Linked DNA regions of Homo sapiens: regions 1 and 3 are each linked to region 2. The links are contacts of gene promoters, found by promoter capture Hi-C in blood cells and fetal thymus (Javierre and others, 2016). All regions are on one chromosome and are shown on one strand. Each heading gives the region's core, a stretch centred on a gene start or on the middle of the fragment in contact. The rest is flanking DNA. Distances are from core to core; before and after follow the strand shown. Region 1 holds the start of LOC105378948 (a long non-coding RNA gene). Region 2 holds the start of UBE2J2 (ubiquitin conjugating enzyme E2 J2). Region 3 overlaps C1orf159 (chromosome 1 open reading frame 159).

What was found. The method cuts DNA at HindIII sites, captures the fragments that hold promoters and counts their contacts. A CHiCAGO score of 5 or more calls a contact.
Region 1: a fragment that was not itself captured here is called in contact with the fragment with the promoter of UBE2J2 in region 2 in 15 of 17 cell types (naive B cells, activated CD4 T cells, endothelial precursors and 12 more); the score reaches 10.9 in naive B cells.
Region 3: a fragment that was not itself captured here is called in contact with the fragment with the promoter of UBE2J2 in region 2 in 13 of 17 cell types (naive CD4 T cells, naive CD8 T cells, activated CD4 T cells and 10 more); the score reaches 11.3 in naive CD4 T cells.

Annotation. Positions count from the first base shown.
Region 1 is chr1:1,065,372-1,069,927 of GRCh38, reverse strand. LOC100288175 (a long non-coding RNA gene) reads right to left here. Exons shown (of 4, transcript NR_148960.1): 4 at 3,475-4,098. LOC105378948 (a long non-coding RNA gene) reads left to right here and starts at 591. Exons shown (of 5, transcript NR_168433.1): 1 at 591-1,367; 2 at 1,888-2,130; 3 at 3,130-3,182; 4 at 3,330-3,462; 5 at 4,095-4,293. RefSeq lists enhancers at 1-630, 602-716, 3,951-4,451, 4,452-4,556 and silencers at 275-674, 795-864, 1,025-1,214. The HindIII fragment of the contact is 4,423 bases long and covers 182-4,556 here.
Region 2 is chr1:1,272,076-1,276,714 of GRCh38, reverse strand. It overlaps UBE2J2 (ubiquitin conjugating enzyme E2 J2), which reads left to right and starts at 2,861. Exons shown (of 7, transcript NM_058167.3): 1 at 2,861-3,049. It overlaps LINC01786 (long intergenic non-protein coding RNA 1786), which reads right to left and starts at 2,713. Exons shown (of 3, transcript NR_185846.1): 1 at 2,234-2,713; 2 at 1,416-1,912. RefSeq lists enhancers at 1,377-2,015, 3,206-3,713, 3,714-4,220, 4,221-4,639 and silencers at 2,227-2,276, 2,437-3,016. The HindIII fragment of the contact is 5,565 bases long and covers 1-4,639 here.
Region 3 is chr1:1,099,468-1,103,556 of GRCh38, reverse strand. All of the region lies in intron 1 of C1orf159 (chromosome 1 open reading frame 159), which reads left to right. Among named protein-coding and RNA genes, the nearest start is that of C1orf159, 15 kb to the left of the region's middle. The HindIII fragment of the contact is 5,940 bases long and covers 1-4,089 here.

The sequences.
Region 1 (4,556 bases), core at 1,144-3,643, 210 kb after region 2:
CGGGGCCACATCCCAGACCACGGGAGCAGGCAGGGCCGGCAGGCCGGAGCTGCGGTGAGGGCAGACCCGCACGGAGTGGCCGAGCTGGGGGCGCACGCGGGTTCACACGTGGTCACCGGTGGGCTTCGCAGCCTGTCGCTCCCTCTGCCGCCCCTGGACCTCCCTGAGCTGGGGACAAGCTTGTGGCTCTGTCCTGGACACAGTCCCGGCCCGCAGCTCCGGCCACACGCGGGCGCGGCTAGGCCGGGGGTTCCCTGCGGCTCCTCAGACACCCGCGGCTCCGCAGGTTCGCGTCCTCGCCGTCCCAGGGCTGCGGGGTTCTGCGCGCGGAGCAGCGGCTCAGCCCTGCACCCCGCACGTCCCAGTCCCTCCCAGAGGACTCCGGACCGGCCCCGGCGCTCCACTCACACCGGGGATGCCCGGGGAGCCGGGGGCTGCAACCCGATTAGCGGGGGGCGGCGCCCACGTTTTGGTTCTCGCGCTCCTGAGGCGGCTCGCGCTGGGGGGAGGGGCCGCCGGTCACCATGGCGACGCCCGCACAGGCCACGCCCCGCAGGGCCACGCCCCCACCTGCTCGCGCAGGCGCAGTTACTCGCCCCGGATGTGCCGCTGCAGCGCCAGGTACGTGAACTTGTACGGAGCCTCCGTCTGCACCATTCCCCAGTGCTGCCGCCAAACCAGCTGGATCGTCTTCGGGACGTCGGTGTCGCAGTCCAGCCCTGCGGACAAGCGCGCTTGGGGAGGGGCTACGGATGGGGGGAAGGTGCCGGCAGGCAGGGGCGGGGCTGCTGATGAGGGGCGGGGCTTGCCGGTAGCGGTGGGGTCGTCCTGAGGGGTGGGGTCGTCCTGAGGGGTGGGGTCGTCCGGAGGGGTGGGGTCGCCCGGAGGGGTGGGGCTATAGCAGGGCAGGGCGGGGGGACCCAGAGTGGAGCGGCTCGCCCTGCCTGCGGATGACGTCCACCAGGATGTCAATCACGATGATGGTGCCCGTGCATCCGATGCCCCCACTGAGGACAAACTAGGCGGCCTTTGACGAGAGTGGGGGGCGGGGGCGGGGGCGCCCCCGCCCACCCGATGGCTCCGCCCTCGTCGTCCCGCGTGGCCCCGCCCCGCCGCACCTGCACCTGCACAGCCCGCGTGGCCCCGCCCCGCCGCACCTGCATCTGCACAGCCCGCGTGGGCCCGCCCCGCCGCAGCTGAAGTGCACCACCATGGGCCCGGCCCGCGGCTTGCTGCTCTGGGCCCGGTTCACCTCGTCCCGGAAGCCGAGGACGCCGGCGGGATCGGCCCGGACGCCGTAGTCCGGCCAGCCGAAGTACTGGAAGTGCTGCACCGTACGCTGTGGCTCCTCCTGAGCGGGGCAAGCGGTGAGTGTGACCCCAGGGTGGGAGGAGGAGGCTGAGGCACAGCTGGGTTTCCGGGAGTGCCCAAGCGGAGGGGCTGCGGGAGCCAAGGCGAGCAGGAGGAGGAGGAAGGAAATGGGGAGGGGGCGCCGAGATGGCCCCAGGTGGCTCAGGTGCCTGGGGAAGGGAAGAGGGAGCTGGGGGCGGGCGAAGCAGGCTGTGAGGACAGTTATTTTATAAGGAAAAACCAAATGTGAGGGGTCCATGGGGTCCTGGAGGACCCCCCCACACACACTGGGCGGGGGCTGGAGGGAACACGAGGTAATCTGCCCGGAGCAGAAATGGGCGTCTCTGGTATACAACGGAGACCAAAGCTGCAGTTGGAGAGGTGTGTGGGAGGAGCGGCCGCCAGCCCAGGGCTGAGAATGTGGCCACGTCAGTGACCCCTGTCCAGGCTTGGAATGCACCTCCTGGGTTGAGGGGTGTGGAAGCCCCCAAAGGCAGTGGGGTTGGATGCAGGCAGGTGTGGGGTCTCCCAGTGCAGGCCGACAGCAGGCACGCTCCACAGCCGCCAGGCTCACCTGGCCCGGCCGCCACACCTGCAGCTCCCGCACGCAGTAGCCCTGGGCCTGGCCCTTGCCGAGGACGCGCATGTGCACACGGCCGAACTCTTGGCTGCCGGGCAGCTCTGGCCAGTCCCGGAAACACTTGTTCCGAGGGGAGCGCTTTGCATCAGCCTTGCTGGCAGCACCTCGGCACCCCGCCCCTGCGACCTGCAGAGACGCAGGTGTGTACGTGCAGCCACGGGGCTCTGTGGGAGCCTCCCCACTCCCACGGCGTCCCACAGCCTCCTTGGCCTGGTCGGGAAGGGCCTTGGGCAGCCGAAGATGCACGGGGTGGGATGGGCACTGGGAGCACTGGCACCGCACCCCTACCCGGCCCCGCTCCATCTCCCTGGTGGTCATGACGATGACACGCGTGTTCTCCTGGTGCACCGTGGCCCAGAAAGCAGCCACCGTGGCCTGCAGACAGGCCTGCAGACAGCCCTGCAGGCGATGTACACCCTGCGCCCGCGAGGCCCTGCCCCGCGGGGAGGAGCCACAGCGTACGGTGCAGCACTTCCAGTACTTCGGCTGGCCGGACTACGGCGTCCGGACCGATCCCGCCGGCGTCCTCGGCTTCCGGGACGAGGTGAACCGGGCCCAGAGCCGCGAGCCGCGAGCCGCGGGCCGGGCCCATGGTGGTGCACTTCAGCTGCGGCGGGGCGGGCCCACGCGGGCTGTGCAGGTGCAGGTGCGGCGGGGCAGGGCCACAAGGGATGTCCACCCTGCCCCTGCCATGGCCCGGCTCCTCCTCAGGGTCAGTCTGAAAGGGAATGAGGCCAACTGCTGCTGTTAACAGAGGACAAACAAGTCCATGCAAATGCTATGCAAATGATATGCAAACGACACACAAATATTATGCAAAGAGCCCTGGTGGCTTAAACACACTCCTCACTCCAGGCCAGCAAGGGGCTGAGGACCAATGCCCGTCCAGCCTCTCTGAGGACCCCTTGGAGACTGCCGCCCACCCCTCCCTTGGGGACCCTGGTTCTTCCTGAGCCCCCCAGGAGCAATGGGCCCAGGCCCCGCCTCCCGCACACACCCACCCTGATGTAGTCGGCTCCGGGCCCGCTGTCATCCTCGTTGAGCAGGATGACTCAAGGGTAGCATCAACTGGGAAGGGAGGTGCCGCTCAGTTCTCCAGGGCACAGCTCGTGGGCCTCACCCTGCCTCTTTGCCCGCAGACCCTGTGGTGAGCAGAGATGGAGGGTCCAGGGTATGCAAGGGGGAGCCTCAGGTCAGCGGTGGCAGATGCTCGGCCTGCCCCCCACCTCCCCCAGGCCCGACGGGTGACGCCCTGGCCTCCGCCCTCACAGGGAAGGATGTTCTTGTAGTGATTCTTGGGCTTGTTCTCCACACTCTGCCCCTCCTTCCGAGGGTACAGGAACCGGCATTCCTGCTGCTGCAGCATCTGGAGGTGATGGAGCCTTCAGCTCACAGCCCCGGCCCCTTCCCAGAGCCCGAGATGGCCACCCCCAGCCCGTCCCGTGTGGGCGGAAGAGTACCTAGGTGCCGAGGCAAGAGACTGAAGGCACAAACTGTTTCAGTATAATAAAGAAAATAGAATAAGAATAGTCATAATACAAATTAGATACAGCGATGATCATGAACAATTATCCATCATTATTATAAACATTATTAATCATTAGCTTTTAATATTACTCTGTTGCATTAATAATATAACCTAGGAATAACCGGCAGGTATAGGGTCAGGTGCTGAAGGGACATTGTGAGAAGTGAATAGAAGGCAAGAGGGGAGCCTTCTGTCATGCCCGCATAAGGGCCGCTTGAGGGCCCCTTGGTCAAGCGGTAACGCCAGTGTCTGGGAAGGCACCCGTTACTGAGCAGACCGGGAAAGGGAGTCTCCTTTCCTTGGAGGAGTCAGGGAACGCTCTGCTCCACCAGCTTCTTGTGGGAGGCTGGATGTTACCCAGGCCTGCCTGCAGTCATCCGGAGGCCTGAACCCCTCCCTGTGGTGCTTCAATGGTCACGTTCCTTGTCCACTTTCATGCTCCTTCCGTACTCCTGGTTCCTCTTTGAAGTTCGTAGTAGATAGCGGTAGAAGAAATAGTGAAAGTCTTAAAGTCTTTGATCTTATAAGTTCATAGAAGAAAACGCTGATGCCTGCCGCCTTCTCTCTCTGCTTCAGCTACCTAAGAGGGAAGGGCCCGCTGTCCTGTGATCACGTGACTTGCTTCACCTTGTCAATCACTTAGAAGACTGACCCTCCTTATCCTGCCCCCTTGTCTTGTATGCAATAAATATCAGCGAGCCCAGCCGTTCAGGGCCACTACCGGTCTCCGTGTCTTTGTGGTAGTGGTCCCCGGGGCCCAGCTGTTTTCTCTTTATCTCTTTGTCTTGTGTCTTTATTTATTACAATCTCTCATCTCCACACACGGGGAGAACACCTGCTAAGCTCCGTAGGGCTGGACCCTACAGTCCCAGACCCTGCGCTCCCATCGGGCACTTGCCCCAGCCCCAGGGGACAGAGTCTGAAGGTGACAGCGGTCAGGATGCACCTTGAACTCCACCCAGAAGCCCTGCCTGGCCTTCCCGCTGGCATCAGTGGCCCTGCTACTCCTGCACACAGCCCTCCAGGCTCCGAGCACTG
Region 2 (4,639 bases), core at 1,612-4,111:
CTTGAGGTCAGGAGTTCAAGACCAGCCTGGCCAACATGGTGAAACCCTGTCTCTACAAAAATATAAAAATTAGCCAGGCATGGTGGTGCATGCCTGTAGTTCCAGCTGCTCAGGAGGCTGGGGCAGGAGACTCAATGGAACCTGGGAGGCGGAGGTTGCAGTGAGCCGAGATCATGCCACTGTACTCCAGCCTGGGCGACAGAGTGAGACTCCAACTTTAAAAAAAAAAATTGTTTTAAGAGGTAATGAATGCTGGTCCATGTCCATTCCTATCTGGCCTACAAAATTTAATGGGCTGTAAATCTTTTAACTGTAAGTCCCTGGGTCATAGGGAGTCAAACTGAGGGACAGGATTGACTGAGGGTGGGCAGCCACACTCGCCCAGCAACGCTGAGACACAATAAAGATTTGGTGGACATGGATGTTGCCTCTGGCAAATCTTGGCCAGAAGGGGGTGAATGTAAACCAAAAATTAAATTCTAAGGCCCCCCCAGCCGTCCAAATGGACCCTTCCTCTCAGCCAAGGGCGTTCCAGTGTTAACCTGGGAACTTGTTCAGGCCATGGCGGGAAGGGGTCGTGGGTCATGCCTCCTCCCTTTTGAAATTCAGGAAAAGCTGACTAGCATTAACATCAACACAGGCCTTAAGTCTGATAGGAAACATTAACAATCTATTCTCTCTGAAGCCGGCAACCCGAGGCTTCAGCTGCGTGGAAAACCACAACCCCTTACTGCAACCCAGACATTCCTTTCTATTGATAATAACTCTTTCAACCACTGTCGGTCAGGATCATTTTGAATCTGCCTATAACATAGAGGTCTCCCCACACCACCCCAATTTATCCTGCTCTTTCAGATTGAACCCGTGTAAATAAATCATGTCTCCCTAAAATGTATAAAAGCGAGCTGTGCCACATGCACCTTGGGCACCTCCCGAGATGTCATGGGTGTGTCCTTAACCTTGGCAAAACAAACTTTCTAAAGGGACTGAGACCTTCCTCAGTTTGCACCCTCCAGGCTGGGTTCTCTGTCCCTCAAGCATCCCCTGGCCAGACAATCCCTGCTGTTCAGAGGCAGCCAAGGCTTTCTGGTCCAACCCTGGGGGCTGGAGGAGGTGGGGGCAGGAGGTGGTAACTGGGTTGGGGGATGTTTTCTTGGTTGCCAAAGCAGAGGGTGCCCCCCGCTGCTCAAGATGCTGAGGGTGGTCCCTGTTGTCCTATTCCTGAAGCTGCCAGAGGAAGTCCCTCCGGAGGGCTGGCCCACAGCAGAAGGGCTGCTCCTGCCCTCAGAGGGCAATCTCAGGGTTGAGAAGGTTACAGCCACCATCTGCCACCAACCTAGCTGCTTGTGCCGATCCCACTGGCCAAGGCCATCGGCTCTATGGCTAGAGGCCTGGGCAGCCTGTGTCCTGCTTACCAGAAGGCCACAGATGCGGGTGGGTGGGGTGGTGGGGTCTTGGCAAGACGTGCTGGCCACACCTGTCCGGGGCACCTTCTCCCTGGGGTGTGACTCAGCCATGCTCCTGAGCAGGGGCCTCTGAGTTGAGCCTCGCTGCAGTCTTCCCAGCTGCAGGGCCCCCACAGGTGTGCTGTCATCGCACACTACTGAGGGACAGACAAGGCAGAGCGGGCCTCCATCTGCCGCGGGCCACAGCCGTGAGTGTGCATGCGAGTGGATGTGCTGGTGCCTGTATCTGCGGCCGGTGTGGCTTCCCTCACATAACTTTCCATGCTGTGAAAACAGTTTGGCCTGCCCTGCATGGGAACGGCAGAGGCCTGAGAGGAGGCAGAGGAAGGAGGCTGGATGCTGAGATGTTCTCCGAAGGTGGAGCCGGTGACGGCAGTAATGGAGGCAGGCTGGATTCCCACGGGCTGAGGCTGCGTGGACACTCCTCCTGGCTTCTGCCCCACGGCCTGCAGCAACGTCTCAGACCCACCAAGGTGTCCCAGAGGGCCAGAGTCAGGGCTGAGCATGGACACAGCCTGCCCTCTGCCCGTAGCCACAGCGGGACTGACCCTCAATATTCAGCCACCTTGCTGACCTGTGGTTGTTCCTGAGAGGCAGTCAGGGTTGGGGCAAAGGAGAGGGCCACAGGCAGCCAGGTGGCGAGGTCCACCTCCTGATCCCCCACCAGGGGACCACCCTCAGCTCCCCGCTGTCCTCAGCGGCCTCTCAGGGAGGCGGTGGGCTGCGCGCCTGCCCCCAGCGTCCCACCCCAGCGCCCCGCCACCTACCGCTCTCTCCCAATGTGTCTGGGGTCAGAGAGAGGTGGAGAGGACGCAGCGCCCCGCGCTTTCTGCAGTCTGTCCAAGGGGAGGTCAGGGGCATCCCGGGGCTGGGCAGGCACCTGCAGGGGAGGGTGCTGCGGCGCGGACGTGGGTTGCAAAGAGATGCCACGCGTGTCACTCTCGGGTCCCTGAACGAGAGAGCTCTGAGCTCCCTGGAGCCCAACCCTCCACTGAGCCTCCAGGGGCCCGGGACGCTCCATGCCCGGGCCGCGCCGCGCCTCCCCTAAGGGCCGGGTGGGGCGTGGGAGCGGAGGACAAGGCGGGAGCCGGGAGGCGGGAGGGTCGGGGTTCTTTCTCCACCGGGGTCGCCCTCAGCCGGGCCTGCCGCCCTGGGCCGTGGCACATGGGGAGGGAAGCGCGCGGCTTCGGGGTCTGGGGCTCTCGCGCCCACTAACGGTGCCCGGAGCCGCCCGCCAGTGCGCAAGCGCCGCCCCGCCCCCCGCCCCATCCCCCACCCCGGGGTCGACGGCGACAGAGAGTCGTGGGCGCGGTCCGCCAGTCTGCCTAGAGCGGCCAGCCCTCCCCCTCCCTCCTCACCGCCCCGGACCGCGCACCGGAAGCAGAAGCTAGGCTGGTTCCGCCCCGCGAGCGGCCATCTTGGAGGCTGAGGCGGCGGCGGCGGCGCTGCGGCGGGTTCGGTGGGCCCAATCCCGGGGCGGTGCGGCTGTTTCGGGCGCGGGCCCCGCTTTTCCGCACCCTGCTCCGGCCTCGACTACGGCGAGCCTGAGCGCGGCGGCGGCCCACGCGCAGCGACAGGGAGAGGTGAGCGCGCTCGCAGGCCTGCGCCGGGTCCTCGGGCCCGCTCGTCCCCCCTGCCGGAGCCGGCCACAGCGGCGGCCCGGGGCTGCTGGGGACCCTGCGCGACGCTTCTCCGTTCGCGCCCGCCGCCCGCGGGGCCCCGGCCCGAGCCTGCCTGCGCGGAACCCGAGGTCGGTTACGGCGGGCTCCCGGAGCTCCGGGTCAGGGTCATGTCGGGGACTTGACCACTCGGCCGGGTTTCCCGTCAGCTGGGACACTTGCAGCTGCCCCAGGACGGGCAGCCTCGATCCTGGTTCGTCAGTGGATCACGGGAGTCTGTGTCGGGGGAGGGCTGCCGTCGAGCCCGCCGTCGCCTCGCCCCTGAACTGTTAGACTCCAGACTGCCCCGTAAACCCCGAGAGAAACGAGCGTGCCCGGGACTGTGCTTAGGGCCAGCGTTTCTGGGAAACCCGGGCGGTGACAGTGGGAGACCACCGCCGGCCGGCGAGTGAGACACGAGCCCGGAACAAGTCTCTAAGCGGCGCCGGGCCTCGCCATCCACACCTGCCAGTTCCCTGCATCCTTTCAGCCCCTGGCCAGGTGTCACCTCCTGGCGTCCTTTTCAGTGCCTGCCACTTAGTGCGTGTGTATTTAACTCTAGTCCGGTTGCCATCCTCTTGCCAGACCCAGATAGGAAGCGGCTGAAAGGTCGGGCCTCAGCCCGGTGGGAGGTGGGCAGCGAAGAGTGTACAGCGGGCTTGGCTGGGGCAGGTCGGTGGCCCCGCGCCCTGCTCCAGGGGAACCAGACTGTGTAATCTGGCTTCCGAAGAAAGGATCGTGAGTATCTCGCTTAGTCTAGCACCTGAGCCTAGGGCGTGGTTGGGTCTGGGTGCCCGGAACTTGCAGTCCGTCATCTGCACGGCCTGGCACCGCTGACCTCCTTAGCAGTTCCACTCTCGGCAGGGATGTGCGTGAGTGACAGGCAGGTGAGCCAGGCAGGTAGGTGAGTGCTTGAGTGACAGGCAGGTGAGCCAGGCAGGTAGGTGCGTGGATGAGTGACAGGCAGGTGACCCAGGCAGGTGCATGTGTGAGTCGCAGGTGAGTGTCCCATTTCCATCGGCCCGGGCTTCCGTCCAGCCTCCGGAGCAGTCTGGTGGAGAAGGCAGAGACTTCCCTGGCAGTCCTGGACCTGGGTGTGCCATGCGCCTGGCCGATGGGTCAGGCCAAGGTTTCCTGCCACATCCCCTAAGCAGGAAAGAGCTGTCCAGACAAAGAGGGACGGGTGAGGGACGCTGGGCAGCCACTGCCTCAGCACCTGGGCACAGCTGCCCTCGGTGATTCACGCTGCTTTAATGCAGTTTCTGTGTGTGAACATTTTTTTTTCCTGTGCCTTTTTGTTTTAAAATCGCCAACTCTTTCTCTCAGCAGGATGATATGCTTGGTGTCCTTTGTCTGTGGGGATGTTTGAAGGGAACCCGAGGCACATATGCTTCAAACTCTGTTCTCACAGTTTGCTTCCTTTGTGGAATTTTTTTTTTTTGATACAGGGTCTCTGTTGGCCCAGCTAGAGTGCAGTGACATGATCTCAGTTCACTACAGCCTCCGGCTCCCGAG
Region 3 (4,089 bases), core at 449-2,948, 170 kb after region 2:
ATGCAGTGACCTGAGCCACCGCTCACCGCAGGTGTGACAGCGTTTGCAGTTTGAATCTAATGAAATTAATTGCCTGCTAAGTAGAAACATTGATTCTCTTCAGAGGAATATCACAGAATTCCAGTGTCTTCACAATGTAACGTTTGCAATGTACAGGGTACAGTTCAAAATCACTCAACATATGAAGAGCCAGGAAAATGTGAGCCATTCTCGAAGGGAAAGACAACAGATATCAATTGTGTTATGACCTAGCTGTTGGAATAGTCAAAAAAGCACTTTGGAGCAGGTTTAGTGTCTGTGCTCAGTGAAGAAAAGGGAAATGCACGCATAATGAACAAAGTGCCGGAAATCTCAGCGAGGAAACATGTTTAAATGAGCCAAATGGGAATTTTAGGTCAAACAAACACAAGATCTGGCTGGGCGTGGTGGCTCACGCCTGTAATCCCAGCACTTTGGGAGGCTGAGGTAGGTGGATCACCTGCGGTCAGGAGTTCAAGACAAGCCTGACCAACATGGTGAAACCCCGTCTCTACTAAAAATACAAACAGCAACAACAAAAATTTAGCAGGGCTTGGTGGTGGTCGCCTGTAATCCCAGCTACTCGGGAGGCTGAGGCAAAGAATCACTTGAGCCCAGGAGGCAGAGGCTGCAGTGAGCCCAGATCATGCCACTGCACTCCAGCCTGGGGCTGGGGGACAAGAGTGAAACTCTTGTCTCAAAAAAAAACAAGATCTGAAATTTTATTTTATTTATTTATTTTTGAGACAGTTCTACTCTGTCACCCAGGCTGGAGTTCAGTGGCACGATCTCGTCTCACTGCAACTTCTGCCTCCCAGGTTCAAGTGATTCTCCTGCCTCAGCCTCCTGAGTAGCTGGGACTACAGGTGCCCACCACTACGCCTGGCAATTTTTTTTTTTTTTTTTTTTTTTTTTTTTTTTTTTAGTAGAGACAGGGTTTCGCTATGTTGGCCAGGCTTGTCTTGAACTGACCTCAGGTGATCCACCTACCTCAGCCTCTCAAGGTGCTGGGATTACAGGCGTGAGCCACTGTGCTTGGCCAAGATCTGAAATTTTAAAATTCACTGAATGAACATAACAGAAGGGAAATAACAGAGAAAATAGGCAGAGTCCTCAAAGACAGAGGAATAGAAATCATCCAAGCTGGAAAAAAAAAAAAGGGTGGAAGTGATTGGAGGAAAATAAAACAAAACCATGAACAGAGCCTCTGGGACCTGTAGGTGATATCTAAGCCTCAGGGACCTTAGGTGATATCAACATGTCTAACACATGGGTAATTACAGAGGTCCAGGAGAGGAGAGGCACAGTGGACAGAAGTACTTGAAGAAACAGTAACCAGAAACTTTCAAATTTGGTGAAAGACATAAATGTTTAGTTTTAAGAATCCCAAACAGGATAAATGAGAATAAAACCACACCTGGACCCATCACTTCAAAAGTTTGTTTTTTTTTTTTTTTTTTTTTTTTTGAGACAGAGTTTTGCTGTTGTCGCCCAGGCTGGAGTGCAGTGGTGCGATCTCGGCTCACTGCAACCTCTACCTCCCAGTTCAAGCGATTCTCCTGCCTCAGCCTCCCATGTAGCTGGGACTATATGCCCGTGCCACCATGCCCGATTAATTTTTGTATTTTTAGTAGATACGGGGTTTCTCCATGTTGGCCAGGCTAGTCTCGAACTCCTGACCTCAGGGGATCTGCCTGCCTCAGCTTCCTAAAGTGCTGGGATTACAGGTGTAAGCCACCACACCCAGCCCTAAAACTATTAAAAACTAAAGATTAACTTTAAAAATCTTGAAAGCAGCCAGAGAAAAACAACAGATCACACACAGCACAGCACTGTGAAGACTGAGCTGATAAACCATGAGCCAATAGACCGTGAGCCGACAGACTGTGAGCTGATTGATAGACCATGAGCCGACGGACCCTGAGCCAATAGACTGAGCTGATTGATAGATGTGAGCCAATGGACCCTGAGCCGATAGACCATGAGCTGACAGACCCTGAGCTGATAGACCATGAGCTGATAGACTGAGTCTGTGAGATTTAAAAAAAAATTTTTTTTTATACAGTCTTGCTCTGTTACCAAGGCTGGAGTGCAGTGGTACAGTCTCAGCTTACTGCAACCTCTGCCTCCTGGGTTCAAGCGATTCTTGTGTCTCAGCCTCCCAAGTAGCTGGGACTACAAGCGTGTGCTACCATGCTGAGCTAATTTTTGTATTTTTAGTAGAGATGGGGTTTTGCTATGTTGGCCAGGGTGGCATCAAACTCCTGGCCTCAAGTGACCCACCCACTTGGCCTCCCAAAGTGCTGGGATTACAGGCGTGAGCTGCCACGCCCGACCAAGTTTGTGAGTAATTATGGAGACCAGAAGAAAGTGGAACTGCTGAAAGAAAAAAAAAGCATAGAATTCTGTATTCTCTAAGAATAAACATTACATGAAAATATTTTCAGAAAAAGGAAAACTGATAAAATTTGTCACCATCAAATTGTGCTACCGGAAATGCTGAAGATAGTATATACTACAGTGAAACTCAGATCTTTAAGAATGAATGATGAACATCAAAATTAGTAAATATCTGGGGAAAAATTAAAACATCTCTTGGGTTTATAATGTATGCAGATATGACAGCCACAACGTGAAGAGTAGTAGAGGGGATCCGTGGACTGTACAGTTGCAAGGTGTCTACATGTCTACATTTTGCATAAAGTGGTATAATGCTAGTTCTAAGTAGACTAGAAAAAGCAAGGTTGAAATTGCAATTCCTAGAGCAACAACTATGAGAATAATGGAAAGAAGCACAACTAAAGGGCCAAAAGATAACTTGGAAAGGAATTTTTAAAACTTCAAATCACGCAAAAGAGGGCCAGAAAGAGAATAGAGGAACAAAAAACACAGGGACAATCAGAAAACAAATAATAAACGGTAAAAACGGTAGACCTGAAATCCAACGATAGTGTCATTATACACTTGCCAAAGCTCAGCACCAAGAACGTGCAGCACCAAGAGTGCGCCCTCGTGTCAACCATGGACTTTGAGTGGTGGTGATGTGTCACTGTCGGTGTGTCAGCTGCAACAAGTGGGATGCTGAGGGTAAGGCTGTGCCTGGGTGGGCACAGCGGGGAGGCACAACTCCTTGTACTTAACTGCTCAATTTTGCTATGAACCTAAAATCACTGAAAAATAAAGGGCAGCGTGTGTATACAAAGGGACAATCAGAAAACGATTAACATACCTACATCTACCCATAACAGTAATTATATTAAATATTAACATACCTACATCTACCCATAATGATAATTATATTAAATATTAATGAATTAAACCCTCCAGTTAAAAGGCAGAGATTGCTAAAATGGACAAATTAGCAAGATTTACTACATGCTGTCTACAAAAGATGCACTGTGGTGTGTGTGTCTGTCTGTCCGTCTATGTATTTGTTTTTTAAGAGATGGGGTCTTGCCTTTTTGCCCAAGGTAAAGTCTAGTACTGCTCAAACTCCTGGGCTCAAGTGATCCTCCTGCCTCAGTCTCCAGAATAGCTGGGATTAGGGGCATGTGCCATCACACTGAACTAAAAGATGCACTTTAAATATAAAAAACACAAGTAGGCAGAAAGTGACTGCAAAAACCATACATATATAGACAACCCACAATCATAGTTGGAGATTTTAACCTCTCTCTCTCCAATTCTTAGAACAATAGACCAAAAACATCAATAGACAACCCAGAATCATAGTAGGAGATTTTAACCTCTCTCTCCGATTCTTAGAACAATAGACCAAAAACAGCAATAGACAATCCACAATCATAGTCGGAGATTTTAACCTCTCTCTCTCTCCAATTCTTAGAACAATAGACCAAAAACATCAGCAGACAATCCACAATCATAGTCAGAGATTTTAACCTCTCTCTCTCCAATTCTTAGAACAATAGACCAAAAACATCAATAGACAACCCACAATCATAGTCGGAGATTTTAACCTCTCTCTCTCCATTTCTTAGAACAATAGACCAAAAACATCAATAGACAATACACAATCATAGTCGGAGATTTTAACCTCTCTCTCTGCAATTC